Linked DNA regions of Homo sapiens: region 1 is linked to region 2. The links are contacts of gene promoters, found by promoter capture Hi-C in blood cells and fetal thymus (Javierre and others, 2016). All regions are on one chromosome and are shown on one strand. Each heading gives the region's core, a stretch centred on a gene start or on the middle of the fragment in contact. The rest is flanking DNA. Distances are from core to core; before and after follow the strand shown. Region 1 overlaps AMOT (angiomotin). Region 2 holds the start of ACSL4 (acyl-CoA synthetase long chain family member 4).

Region 1 (6,745 bases), core at 2,396-4,895, 3.1 Mb before region 2:
CAAGACTTAACTTTGTGAACCCATGTGGAGGAACTAAGTCAGAATCTGACCGAGGACACATGAAGACTCCCATATATTTTGTTTCTCAAATGCCAGGAGAGGCTAATGGATATAATAAGTAATCCCTAAACACTCTCTGTGATTCAGGAGTTGTTCATGTATCTAGCAAGGCTGTTAATTTAATTCCTTTGACCTCCTGTTATCCCTCCCCCATTCTTGTTAACAACAACAACAACAAAACTAGGGTCCACTGTTTACTTTGTGTAAATCATTGGCAATGATTTTTAAGTCACTGTATGGTGAAATCCCATCAAGTGAGTATAAATTTGAGTGGAATATGAAATCTCCAGAATGAGAAAGGAGAAGCAGGAAAGCACAAATATACTTGTTTTGTAGCATGGAAAATAATATGTTTAAATTAGACTAAAAGATAGCAAAGAAACTAAGGATTTTAGACAGTTAAATAAAAGACAAGAAGTGCAGCAGCAGAATGGCCCACACATAATGGGTTCTTCATCTGAGGTCTTCACCATGTAGTCAAATTTCATAGTTCTTTAATTTTCCTTTGATAACAAAGGTGTGGTATACATGTGATCTCTAAGATTTGATGGATTAGCCAGGCATGGTAGCTCACACCTGTAATCCCAGCGATTTGGGAGGCAGAGGCGGGCGGATCACCTAAGGTCAGGAGTTCAAGACCAGCCTGACCAACATGGTGAAACCCCTGTCTCTACTAAAAATACAGAATTACCTGGGTATGGTGGCGCATGCCTGTAATCCCAGCTACTCAGGAAACTGAGGAATAAATTGCTTGAACCTGGGAGGCGGAGGTTGCAGTAAGCCAAGATCACGCCATTGCACTCCAGCCTGGGCAACAAGAGCAAAACTCCGTCTCAAAAAAAAAAAAAAAAGATTTGATGGATTCATTCCTGGAAACCAGTGGCTCATCATAAATTAGATTAAATTTCTCTAACTGGAATAGAAAGTGTGGTATGGGTTTTTAGTATTTAGAAAGTAGCAAATGAGGAACAGGAACTTTTTTTTTTTTGTAATATATGATCCTGGAGAAAATGCAAATGGGTGTATTTGCCAATGTTTCCTAAGGCAATTCTTGAAAATCTACTCTTTTAAGTCTGTGGGCTTGCCTTGACATTTGTAAAGGCACTTTCACTCTTGCCCTAACTCCATGAAATATCATTAGCCTGTGTGACTTGAAGCCAGGATCTGGTTTTCTCTGCCCAGCCCCTCTCTGTCTTACCATGTGACCAAGGGTAAATGAATTAGCTGCTCTAAGCTTCAGTTACCCTTCTGGGAAGCAAGGATATTAATAATCACAGAGGTGTTTCGGCATGCTTCATATTGGGCACATGCTTTGAGGTCATTGGATGAAAGGTGTTTGCATGATGGCAGAGCAGGCTTATTATAGGGTCTTGAGCAGGTGTTCCTTTTTAATGAGCTTTGCTCTCTTATAACATACAGTGCCCTTTGGTGCCCCATTGCCTTACTGACTGTAATTACCATTAACCCAACATTTGTATTATTGGCCCTCTCGGCTTTTTGGAAAAAAAATTAAACAGTTTTGTACTGTGTGGTAAGTTGAGGTACAAATAAGAGGACTCTAGCATCTTACAGGGTGGTGAAAAATAGCTTCAAAAAGAAACGTTAGTTGAAAAGGGCTATAGAGATCAGTGAGTTATTCAAAGCTCCTCCAAAAGATGAAAAAGAATAAAGCAAACTTCTGTGTGTGTGCGCATGCACGTTTTAAGGGAGAAAGTTTTCAGTAATATTTGCTTGTGACACATACTGATGATAGCCAGTAACTGAAACCCAGCCATTGTAGTGTTTTATACACAGCTGGATTTTATTAATGATGGAATATTTATGCTTGCTGTACAATTCGTGGCTCATTTCCATGTGTATGTCAGAACTTAAATACCCCCAAAAGAAACATTAAGATAACATGAAATATAAATGTGGCCAAGCTAGAAAGGGTGGATTTGGTGGAGAGTCTCCCTTCTTCTTATTGGTGTCACATCAGATCACAATAACTGTGCCGCCCCCCTATCAACCTTAGGCATTGATACTGATCTTTTTTTCCCCTTATATATACCCCATAGCAAACTTCACATTTCAATCTTTTTGATATGGACAAACGATCTGCTCTCCTCTTTATAATGCAGATAAAACTGATGTATGTGTTTTTTAAGAGCATATTTTCCCTGCACATGCTTCTCATTATCCGAGAGGCCTGGACTCAATCAGTAAAGGAGCAGAGAAACCACATAATTGAAAGGAGAATGACGGTGGTGCATACTTGGAATATTTGTGGGAAGGGGATTGCTGACATCAGAAAATGTAGTGGCCTGAGTGTTAACAGCATTGAAGAGAAATCAGCTTTCTGTGTTTCTGTGTATTGAAAATTATTTTTAAGGGAATAAAAATATGGGCCAGGTTTGACATCCTTTTATGAAGTTGCCCTGGAAACTTTGATGAAGATTGTTAAAGAATAGCTCAATTAAAACCTTCCCCATTAGGAAGCTAATTAGTACATCCCTTACTCATTTTGGTTGTTTTCAAGGGGCATGTATTTGCATTGAATTAGTGACATTTGTTCCATGTGATAGCAAACTAAGATAAAAATCACAGATGGGGAAAATTATTTAGATTGCCTGTTTTGAAGAAACCTAATTCCTCTTTATTACATTTAGATTTTCAGTTCAGAGTTTTGTTTTACTATGTTTATATACAATGATCACATTTTAGTGTGGTAGCCAGTTTTGCTTTCTGGATCATGGGCTATAAACCAAAGCTTATTTGAATTTCCCGTATGAATTAGGGAAATAGAACAAATGACAACAAACCATTTTATTAAGGTAAGATTTCATTTTTTTCTTCTACAATTAGTTTCTCTTTGGTCTATGTGTGTGTGCCTGAGAGAGAGAGTAGGGGAGGCAGATTGTTTTTTTAAAAAGCAAACAGTTTTTGAAGCTAAGAAAATTTTGATGACCCCCCCCCCCCCTTTACTCCCAGGAACATTCTGTCTGCCTCAGGCTGGGACCAGTTGGGCTTTGGTTAGGGGAACATGATGAATTTTCTGACCTGGTGCTTTCTGTGACCAGGCTAAGTGGTTCTCCCTTGGAAGCCTGAAGGAAAGAGGTTATGGTGAGAACAGGAGTGCAAGATTTCTAGCAGGTTCTTTTTACTGTACTCCACCTTTTTTTAGGGGGGTGAGTACTTGCTTCTGAGATTTTAGGGCCATTTGCAGTAGAGTCAATGCTTTATAGCCAAATGTAAAATATGGGCCAGTTGTGGCCCTCCTTTCCCCGCATCACTTTAGGTGACGGTCATTCTGTACCTAGGTTCCCATATGCTGTGCCCACGGTGTAGGTGTATGCCTGCAGTAGTTTGTGCAAATAAGAAAGTTAGCTGGGTTATATGATTTGTGGTTTAATCTCACCTTAGTCCTTCTTGGGAAGGCAGGGTTTAGATTCAGTTCTGCAGTGGCACCTCAGGCAAGGCAGGTTCCCTGTGCTTGCAAGGCAACAGCAGGAGGAGGAGGGGCTGCCTTCTGCCTTCAGAGAGTGACTCAGGCCCTTTGGTATGAAGATATGAAATGCTGGCTCCTGTCCATACACCTGCTGGATGCCACACCTGCAGTCAGCACCTGAGCCCCACTCAGACACAAAAACCAGACTGAAGGCAGATGGGGCTCCCTTGAAAAGGGGCACAGCGAAACAGGGAGCTCTCAATTATGTTAGTAGAGCCCCACTGGGAACTGGGTTTAGTCATCCCAGTGTTGGCGTGGGGAAACAGATTACTTTCTTTTAGATGCAGCTCACTCACTTGCTCAAGATACTGTTAGAGTGTTTCAGGAGTTTGCTTTCCTAATGAATTTCTCTTGTGAACTGTCCTCTTAAAAACTGGAGGGGCAATTCTGTGGAGGGTTATGTCTTAGAACCAAGCACAGGGCAGGAAGTCGCAAGACCTGGGTTCCAATGCTGGCCCTACCAATGGGCAACAGTGAAATTCTGGTCCAATTAGTTATGATTAGCTATCTGTTCTGGACTTGAGCTTCCCTCTCCAGTTCTAAAATGGAATTAATCACATCTGCCTTTATTTCCCCACAGAGCTGCTAAGAAGGACAAATAAGATAGCAGAGTGAAAGAGCTTTTGTCTCCTTAGAAGGAAGGCTGAGAAACTAAAGGTAATAATAACATTATTATTATTGTTATTCCATGTCTTTCTTTGTTTTCTTCTCCTGCTGTGGCCTCTAGCAAAGTTTTGGGGAAGTTATCATTCACTCAGTATGCAACTATTAAGCACATTTTATGTACCAGTTAATGTTTTAGGTATTGGGATGCATACAATGAAAAATCACGCACCCCGCCCATGCCCTCTAAGATCTTACAGTCTAGCAACTTCCCTTTCCATTTCTGGCTCAACCCGTAATAGTGATTGCTACCAGGGCACTCAGAAGCTTAAAAGGTGAGAGTTAACTTCTTTTTTTCTCTCCACACTACAGCTGGGGATTTCTGTCCCTGGAGCTGTGTATTGCAAGGTCTAGCTTGGAGATATATGGGAGGAAAGGCCATCGGGATAAATAAAGGAATTTCTTTCCCTCCCACATTTGCAAAGTACCTAACCCTTGAATGATCTTTTTTTTTTTTTCCCCAGAAGTCCATGTTTAGTTTCATCCTGGGTTCTGTTCTGTTCCTAGTCAATATGGTCCAGCCCTCTCTTATGACCTTAGCTGTCATCCATATGCTAATGACTCCCAAAGATATATCTCAACCTATCTTTGATGTCAAATTGGTCATCACACTCCATGTCTTCTACTCAGCTTATAGGTTTTTGATATTTTCCTCCTCTTGGGAGCTTTTTCAGGTAGCCCAGGGTTTTTTGCAGAGCCCTATGTGTTGCCGGAGCTATTAGCTCATACCTCTGTTTTCCCGTTGAATTGGGCCTCCTCTGCCTGACTGGGAGCTCCTCAAGTACTGGGCTCTCTTTTTATTTATTTATTTATTTATTTATTTATTTATTTATTTATTTATTGCCACCCTAGGCCTTACCTAGCACAATGTCTGGCTACAGTAAGTGCTCAGTAAAAGTTTATGGAAAATTTGCTGTGATAAGTGTCATCATAGAGAATTCATTTTCCATGTTGAGCAGAGTTGAGGTCAGGAATAGATGGAGAGGGATTAGGGAAAAATCTTCAAAGAGAAGATGGACAGCAGAACTGCCTTATTTTGAGAGTTCTGGCTAAGAAGTCACGGAAGGAATGCCTGTTGTGTCCACTGTTGTTAAACCAGGGGCATCTCTGACCTATTGCCTCCCCTGCTTTAGGACCGGATGATTTTTATGGTCAGGTCTGCAAATCAACCTCTGTCTATAATACATTGACCATTTAAGACAGGTGTCACTTAGTCATCTAGTATTAAACAGGGCTGACCTTAAATGTGCCACCTTAACTGAGGCTGAAAATAGAGCTACACACACAGGCTCATTGATCATGCCTGCTTAGTTCTATACAGCAAAATGTCCCTTAAGATATATTGAAGATTGGGATCTAAAAACTGACAAATTCAATTCTCAGAATGTAAGCAGGTTGGGTCACAAGAACTGAATGTCTTCAAGCTGACTGTCAGATCTTTCCAAGGGCAAAAATGAAAGATGATATAAGCTATTACAGGCCATGAACCTGTTTTCACCCACCTGATGCTTTTACTAATTAGCTTCTTGGCTGGGTGGCAATTTGGGGCAAGTGCATGCAAGCTGGATTCACAGGGGAGCCCGCATTCCACTCTGCCATTTCGCAAGCCACTGGGATACTACACTGCTTCTCTTGGCTTCTTTCCCTCCCAGGAGCCCTGCTCTGCCCTGGTGGAAAAATGAGAGCGGGAGAATTTTTCATTAAATGAGGGAGGGATTTCATGGGACTCTGGTGTTTTGCTAATTTTATTTTTTAGTGGGTTGTCTAAAAACATTTATGCTTCTTGACCCATCAGTTTCACTTCTGGGATTCTATCATGAAGAAACAATCTACAATATTGAAAAAGGTTAAATCACAAAGATGTTTTTGTAACATTATTTAGATTAGCATAAAATTGGAAGCAATTTACATGTCTTAATAATTGAAGAATGGGTAAGTGAATGCTGATACACTTGTTTAATGCACTATTATGCAGCCATTACGATGTTATGAAGTTATGCCACAACATGGAAAAAGTATTTATGGTGAGGTGAAATGCAGGATCCAAAATTACATCTTATTAATAATTCATTGCTTGTAAAAACCCAAATACACATAGGAAAACTAAAGGAAATATAATGTTAACAGTGCTTAAGTTGAGGTGCTTGGATTATAAGTGATTTTTTTCTTTATTAAAAATAAATGCATGCTGTGCTTATATTACTTGTAAAATAAAATATAAGTAGATATGAAAATGGGTGGTCTGGCATTGGCGGTTAAAGATTGGTCAAGCAGGCAGCTTCTAGGTATATTCTTAAACTTTTCTCATTTTAGGCTCCATCTAATTACAGGGACTCTTTATACTTTTCTCGAGATAATAAAGAAGGGGATGTGATGGTGTGGTCTACTCCTCTTTTGGAATGGATGTGTGTGCTGGGAGATAGAGGGAGGTGGCAACAGGATTCTCCTTGCTACCCAGTATGTCACTGCTCACATCCACTTCAGGGTTGATCACCTTTGTTGCCTATAAACATGTTTAAGGTAATTGCTTCAGAG
Region 2 (6,910 bases), core at 550-3,049:
ATCTTGTAGAGCTGGAGGAACTTCAGTAAGCTGAAGACTCTGTTCAGAGGAAATTACCTAATTGAAAATGTCTGGGCTAAGAGACCGACAATAAAGGAAACTGGCAAAAGTACTCTTTAATTACAAGTTCTTTTTCATCTTCATCCAGCACACTGATTTATGTGCTACACTGGGTTTGTATTATATCTATATTTTAATTCCACAACTAGACACTAACTTTATTGAGAACAGCGATATTCATTTCTTCAATTTCATTTGTGTTAACCCAACTGTAGGTGATAGTGCTCTGTACATCATAGTTACCCAGTGAATTACGTACCTGACATATGATTGCTTATTTCTGGTATTAAAACAAGATTTCATAAAATAAACATGACAATTAAACTCGTTGTTTGAAGTACTGAACTTTGTAGGTCAATCTTGAAAAAGGAAGCTACATGACTGTCTTAGCAATATTTATAGGTATATTATATGTAAGTGGGTGGGTTTCTTGGAAATTGAATTGGTAATATGGCTTTAGAGTAGTAACACAAAAACTATAGCTCTGTGCTCTCAGCTAACCACTTTTAGTGTCACCTGGGCTGCTTATTAAAAATTCAAATTTCTTATCCCTACCCAGATCAGAATCAAAATACCTGGGGGTTGTAGCTCCAGGTACCTACATTTCAACAAGCACCCCAGATAATTGTGATGCACACTGAAGAACTACTCTAGCTTGTAATCTCAGGTGGTAAGGCATTTTATATATACATATATATATACACACACACAAGCACAAATGGTAATTCTATGGGAAAATGGAAATCAGCAAGTGAAGTGAAATGTCAATTACCATCAGGAACAGGAAGCTAGTTCACCATTACGCATCAGGGAACTGGAAGAATTCTTGAGATTTATTTTTTTGGGTGATATATTCTTGGCAGTTTATCAGGCCTCATTTGCAATTATGGTCTGTCCCTTTTGAAGCCCTCAGATAGTTCGCTGGCATTTTAATTTTAATAGCAATTTCTTGCATCTGTTGGAACAGCATTCGTATGACCGGCTTATAAGCAATGATCAGGGCTAGTAAGATGTCACAAAGCTGCGGTGACTTTTCCTTATCAGTTGGGGGTTTTTTTGCCATGATACCATCGTGGAAATGAAAGACAACGTGAAAATCCTGCGTCCTTGTGATATTTCATCAGTGGGAGTGAGCGGGGATCTTAACGCAGTAAGAGGCAAGATAAACGGATGAGAGGCATTAGTTCAGGCTTACAGGAGCAAGATGCTTTTAGTCAAAGTGTTCAAGATAGCTCTCTTAAAGAGGAGCAGTGAAACCCAAAAATGAGTGTCTTTTGAGGGCAGCTGGAAGATGACCCGAGGGGAACTTTTATCCTGGGGTGGAGTCCTGCGAAGCAAGCCGCAGGTGAGGGCGTGGGCCAATTCTGCGCCTCACTGCTGTTAGGCGCAAGGACATCCCGAAACACACTCAACGACACCAGCAGCGAGACTGACAGAAGCGGATCGCCAGCGGGAGCAACAACTTGAGGCGAGCCGTTAGCCGCCTCGCCTTCCTCGCAGCGCCCCTCCCGCGCCCCGGGAAGCCCGTTCGGCTCCGCCTTTTCGACTGACGTCCCGGGCGAGCGGGGGCGGGCGCGTGGGTGGGCCGAGCCGTCTGCAGCCAGCGATTCGGCTGGCTCTGCCACACCACCGCGCGCCCCCGCTCCGCCCGCCCCTCCGGGCGCGTCTTTTCCGGGCTCGCGCTGAGTCCCGCCTCCGCCGGCTGTCCGGGTGCGCGCGCGCCGCTGCGGCTTTTTCTCTGGCCTCCGCCGCGCGCTCCTCCTCGTCCCAGCGCTAGCGGGCACGCGGTTCCTTTTTGCGAGCTTTCCGAGTGCCAGGCGCCGGCCGGCTGCGAAGACGCGGTGGGCCGCCCCTCCGGTGAGTATCCCTGGATGGGGAGGTTGCGGCCCCGGCACCCCTGCCCTGTCGGTACCAGGGCCCCATTTCCAGAGGGGGACTGGCGTACCTCACCTGAGCCGGGAGGAGGTTGGGTGGGCATTCCAGCTCCTGGAGTCGGCTCGCTTTTTTCCTTGAGCCAGGGCTATCTATCCGCTCGCCTCCGCTGGGGCCGGGAAGATTCCCGAGGTCACTGTATCTGCTCCTGTGATGGACTCTGGGGTCCTCGGAACCCCAGCCTGCCTCTTCCTGCCGCTCACCGCATCCCGAGGGCCAGAAGTCATCTTCCTGATCGGGGTACTAGGCTTTGCCACGGCCCTTTCCGGAGGAGACCATGAAGTGCTTGCTAGACCTCCAAACGACCTTTAGGGTGCCCCTAAACCTCAACTCCATTTTGTCCCCTCCCAGTCGCTCTGTAACTGAGGGCTAGGGAGCCTCTCTAGCCCTAGAGGCATCCGCCCTCTCGAATTTGAGGGATGCCGTCGCTTCCGATATCTTCCTTGCTTCCGATATCTTCCTAGCTTCCGTAGGCTTAGGTTTGTTAGAAAACAGCTGGATCCTGGCGAAGCGTGCTTTCCTTCCTTCCCCCACCCCCGTTCTTTCTGTCTACATCCCTGCCTTCAGTGGGTGCTATATATTTAGTATGAGCTTTATTCACTTCCTCTTCCTCTCGTTTGAGTGCCTGAAAGAACTGTGGCTGATGTCTATAGACATAGAAAAATCTAGGAGAATATGATTCATTGTCTAACCCCATCAAGGGGTTACATATTTTAAATAAGACGTCATTTCTCCTCTTCACTCCAGCATCTCCTCCTTCAAAGGCATTTTTCACCCTCTTGAAATTAATACGCTCTATTCGCTCTTTTCACCTAAAAAAAGGTCAATCGTCGCTCTGAGAAACAACAGTGAGATGCAAAATAAGGGTAAAATGGCATTGAAATGAATCCCTTTGAAAAAGTAAGCGGTTTGCTTTATCAGTTAATGGTCTCATCAGCGCTTCAGTTTCCTCTTCTGCAAAAATCAGTCTGTTGAACTAGAGCATATCAAAGGTTCCTTCTAGTGTTTTGATTCTAGGACCTCTAAATTCATGCAGGCTGCATAATGCAAATTTAACCTGATTAAAGCCTTATTTCTCATAGTCGCTTGTCACCTTAGTTTTTCTTTTATTTTGTCTCTAACAAGAAAGACTTTTAAATGTTCTTGATACGTAAGGCAGCAGGTGGAGATTCAATGATGGTACTGCCATTGAGCATATCGGTCAAGATTTTAACAGTGTAAGGCCTCTTCCTTAAATTGTAAAATAGCTCATCTTTTGATTGAAACTGCTAAAGTGTAAGACATGTAAGACTCCTGTTAGAATTAACACTCTCTGCCATTTAGGTGGGGGATGAAACATTAAACTGTTAGTATACTTGTACCTTAGAATAAAGTACCTTATTGTCCTGCTATAAGAAATAATTTGACAACTAAAAATCCATGGAAGGTGTAATACAGCAATTGAAAGCTTGAGTAAATTCAATTTTGTGGGTTTTTTTTTTTTTTTGGAAAACCCCCTATTTAAAAACACAAGTGATTTAGATTAAGATATTTCTTTCAGTATTTTTGGTAGGGGTGAGATGGGTGAAGAAAGAAGAGTCTTGTTCAATTCAGACAAGAGAAATGAATTGGAACTCTGGAGAGGCTCAGGTTCTAGACCCAACTCTAGATATATATTTAACCTTGAACAAGTCACTTCACCTCTCTTAGTTTTTGCATCTGTAAAATAAGTGTCTTTATGGTTGTTGAAATGATCCACAAGTCCCCCAATTTGAATGATATATTCTTATAATGAATATATATGACAAATATATATATACACACGTGTATATATAGGTATACACACACACATATAATGCAATTTGCGTTAAGGCTGTTATAAATCCTGTTATACCAGTTGACTAGAATGTTTTTCTCAAAGGTTTGTGTATAGTGGTTTCAATTTAGGTATACTTAGTTCTTAATCCTGATTAAATAAATAATTATATGTGAAAATCTATAAACTCAGAAGCATTTTACAAATGTTGGGTATTATGTTAATTTCTGCTTGCAAGTGAAATGTGTGTTATACCGCACTATTTTTTAAATGTCCATGGCTTTTAGAAATTTATAAGGGAATGGCTGGGTGTGGTGGCTCACGCCTGTAATCCTAGCACTTTGGGAGGCCGAGGCCGGCGGATCATGAGGTCAGGAGATCGAGACCATCCTGGCTAATACGGTGGAACCCCGTCTCTACTAAAAATACAAAAAATTAGCCAGGCGTGGTGGTGGGTGACTGTAGTCCCAGCTACTTGGGAGGCTGAGGCAGAAGAATGGCGTGAACCCGGAAGGTGGAGCTTGCAGTGAGCCGAGATCGCGCCACCGCACTCACATACTGCCTTACAACTGTAATTGGCTAGGAACTTTAAAATAATATGTGGGCATCTCATTCATTTATTAATTCATTCAACTATCTTCTTCCTTCATCTGTCACGTATGTCAGGCCCTCAGGACATGATGGTTAAGACAAACCCTACTCTATGAGTTTATACTTTGGGCTGATGGAGATGGTTGGGGGGCATGTGGAGAGACAGATGTACATCCAGTTTATTTTTGTTAAAAACAACAACAGTCAAATCAAGGACAAACAAAATTCTGGAGAAGTTAAGTTTCCATAGGGGAGGAAGAGATGATTCTATTAATTGTAGCCTGTAGACTCTTTGACATTACCTTTTTCTCCATCCTTTCAATTGCTGAGCCTTTAGCAAAAATAAAAGCTTTGTTTTTCCACTTCTACCATTGGCTGGTCTTATATACTCTTTCTTTCCCTTTTAACTTTTTATTTTGAGATAGTTGTAGATTCACATATAGTTGTAAGAAATAATACGCTTTATCTAATTTCCCCCAATAATAGCCTCATGCATAAGTATAGTGTAACATCACAACTACAAAATTGAAATCGATGCAATCCATCAACCTTACTCAGATTTCGTCACCTTTAATGCAGTCATTTGCATGTATGTATTTAGTTCTACATAATGTTATCACGTGTAGATTTATATAAGCACTACCACAGTCAAGATACAGAACAATTGCATCACCACAAGGATCCTTTTTGTTGTCTTTTTATAGATGTAGCCATCTCCCTTCATCCCTGACTCCTGGCAACCACTGATCTGTTTTTCATGTCTATAATTTTGTCATTTCAAAAATGCTTATATAAATGAATCACACAGTATATAACCTTTGGAGACTGACTTTACTTCACTCAGCATAATTCCTTGGAGATTAGTGCAAGGAATATACCTTTTATCAATGGCTTGTTCCTTTCCATTGCTGAGTAGTATTCCATAATATGGATTTACTGCAGTTTGTTTAACCAGTCACCTCTTGAAGGGCATCTGATGTTTCCAGGGTTTTTGTTTGTTTTACTTATTTATTTATTTATTTATTGCCTATTTTGAATAAAGCTCATATGAACAGTTGTCCACAGGATTTTGTGTGAACATAAATTTCTGAAATGCCTGAGAGTGTACTTCTTGGGTGGTATAGCACTTGCATGTTTAGTTTTCTAAGGAACTGCCAAACCATTTTCCAGAGTGGCTGTACCATTTTACATTCCCACCAGGAATGTGTGAATGCTCCTCATCCTTGACAGCATTTGGTGCTGTTACTATTTTTTATTTTAGCCATTCTCATAGGTGTGTAGTAATATATCCTCCTAGTTTTAATTTGCATTTTTCTGATCGCCAATGATGTTGATCATTTTTCCATGTGTTTATTTGCCATTCTCTGTATCTTCAGTGAAATATCAGTTCATGTCTTTTGTCCATTTTCTATTTGGATTTTTTTTTTAACCTGGTGAGTTTTAAGAGTTTTTTATTATTTTTTTGAGACGGAGTCTCGCTCTGTTGCCCAGGCTGGAGTGCAGTGGTGCAATCTCACTGCAAGCTCTGCCTCCCAGATTCACGCCATTCTCCTGCCTCAGCCTCCCAAGTATCTGGGACTACAGGCACCCGCCACCACACCTGGCTAATTTTTTTTTTTTTTTGTATTTTTAGTAGAGACAGGGTTTCACCGTGTTAGCCAGGGTGGTCTCGATCTCCTGACCTCATGATCCACCCGCCTCGGCCTCCCAAAGTGCTGGGATTACAGGCGTGAGCCACCGCCCCTGGCCTTTTTATTCTTAATACTAATCATTTGTCAGGTAGTGGTATGAAAATATGTTCTCCCAGTCTGTAGCTTGTCTTTCCAACCTCTTCACAGGGAATTTCACAGAGCAAAAGGCTTTAATTTGGATGAGGTCCAGTTTATTAATTTTTCCTCTATGGACTGTGCTTTTGGTGTCAAGAAATCTTACAAACTTTTGTTATTTAATTTGATTCCTTTCTGTTCTGTATAACATCCATTATTTCTGTAAGCTATTTGAGCATTTTCTCTTTCAACAATTTTAGAGCTCAAATATATTCTGTGAACAAGTGGCCTTAATGGCTTAGAATGTTAATACATATTCACACATGCTCTCACTATATTAAAATGGCTGCCTTAAAAATATAATGTCTACCTCACCAGGCTGTCAAATGCAACATTAAAATTTGTATTTTAAAATTAAATAGACGCATGATATGCTAAAGAGGTTTTTGGTTTCACTTTCTAAATTAAAAATATTTTGGCAAAACTGTATCATTTTCCATCAAGGATTTTGGTAAGTAATCCAAAAAACAAATTTGTGTTCTTATTTAAATGTACTTTGAAAGTCTACTTCTGCATTTTGAGTAGTGAAGTTATGATTCATGACCATGTATTTAGCAGACTTTTCTACTCACTGTTGATTATGAGAATAATGAATAAAAGATCATTGTATTTGACTGTCTAGACTGCATTTTTCCTTTTATAGCAGCTACATGACACTCATTGTAACTGTCTTTTGAAATAAATATTAGGTTCAAGGTGATGTTTA

What was found. The method cuts DNA at HindIII sites, captures the fragments that hold promoters and counts their contacts. A CHiCAGO score of 5 or more calls a contact.
Region 1: a contact is called between a fragment that was not itself captured here and the fragment with the promoter of ACSL4 in region 2, in 1 of 17 cell types (naive CD8 T cells). The highest score is 5.9, in naive CD8 T cells.

The regions. Positions count from the first base shown.
Region 1 is chrX:112,829,753-112,836,497 of GRCh38, reverse strand. It overlaps AMOT (angiomotin), which reads left to right. Exons shown (of 14, transcript NM_001113490.2): 2 at 4,128-4,204. Among named protein-coding and RNA genes, the nearest start is that of AMOT, 7.7 kb to the left of the region's middle. The HindIII fragment of the contact is 1,668 bases long and covers 2,812-4,479 here.
Region 2 is chrX:109,728,146-109,735,055 of GRCh38, reverse strand. It overlaps ACSL4 (acyl-CoA synthetase long chain family member 4), which reads left to right and starts at 1,799. Exons shown (of 16, transcript NM_001318510.2): 1 at 1,799-1,917. LOC105373311 (a long non-coding RNA gene) reads right to left here and starts at 2,545. Exons shown (of 1, transcript NR_158569.1): 1 at 98-2,545. RefSeq lists silencers at 1,537-1,846, 1,944-2,064 and enhancers at 2,187-2,326, 2,387-2,436. The HindIII fragment of the contact is 5,191 bases long and covers 1-3,441 here.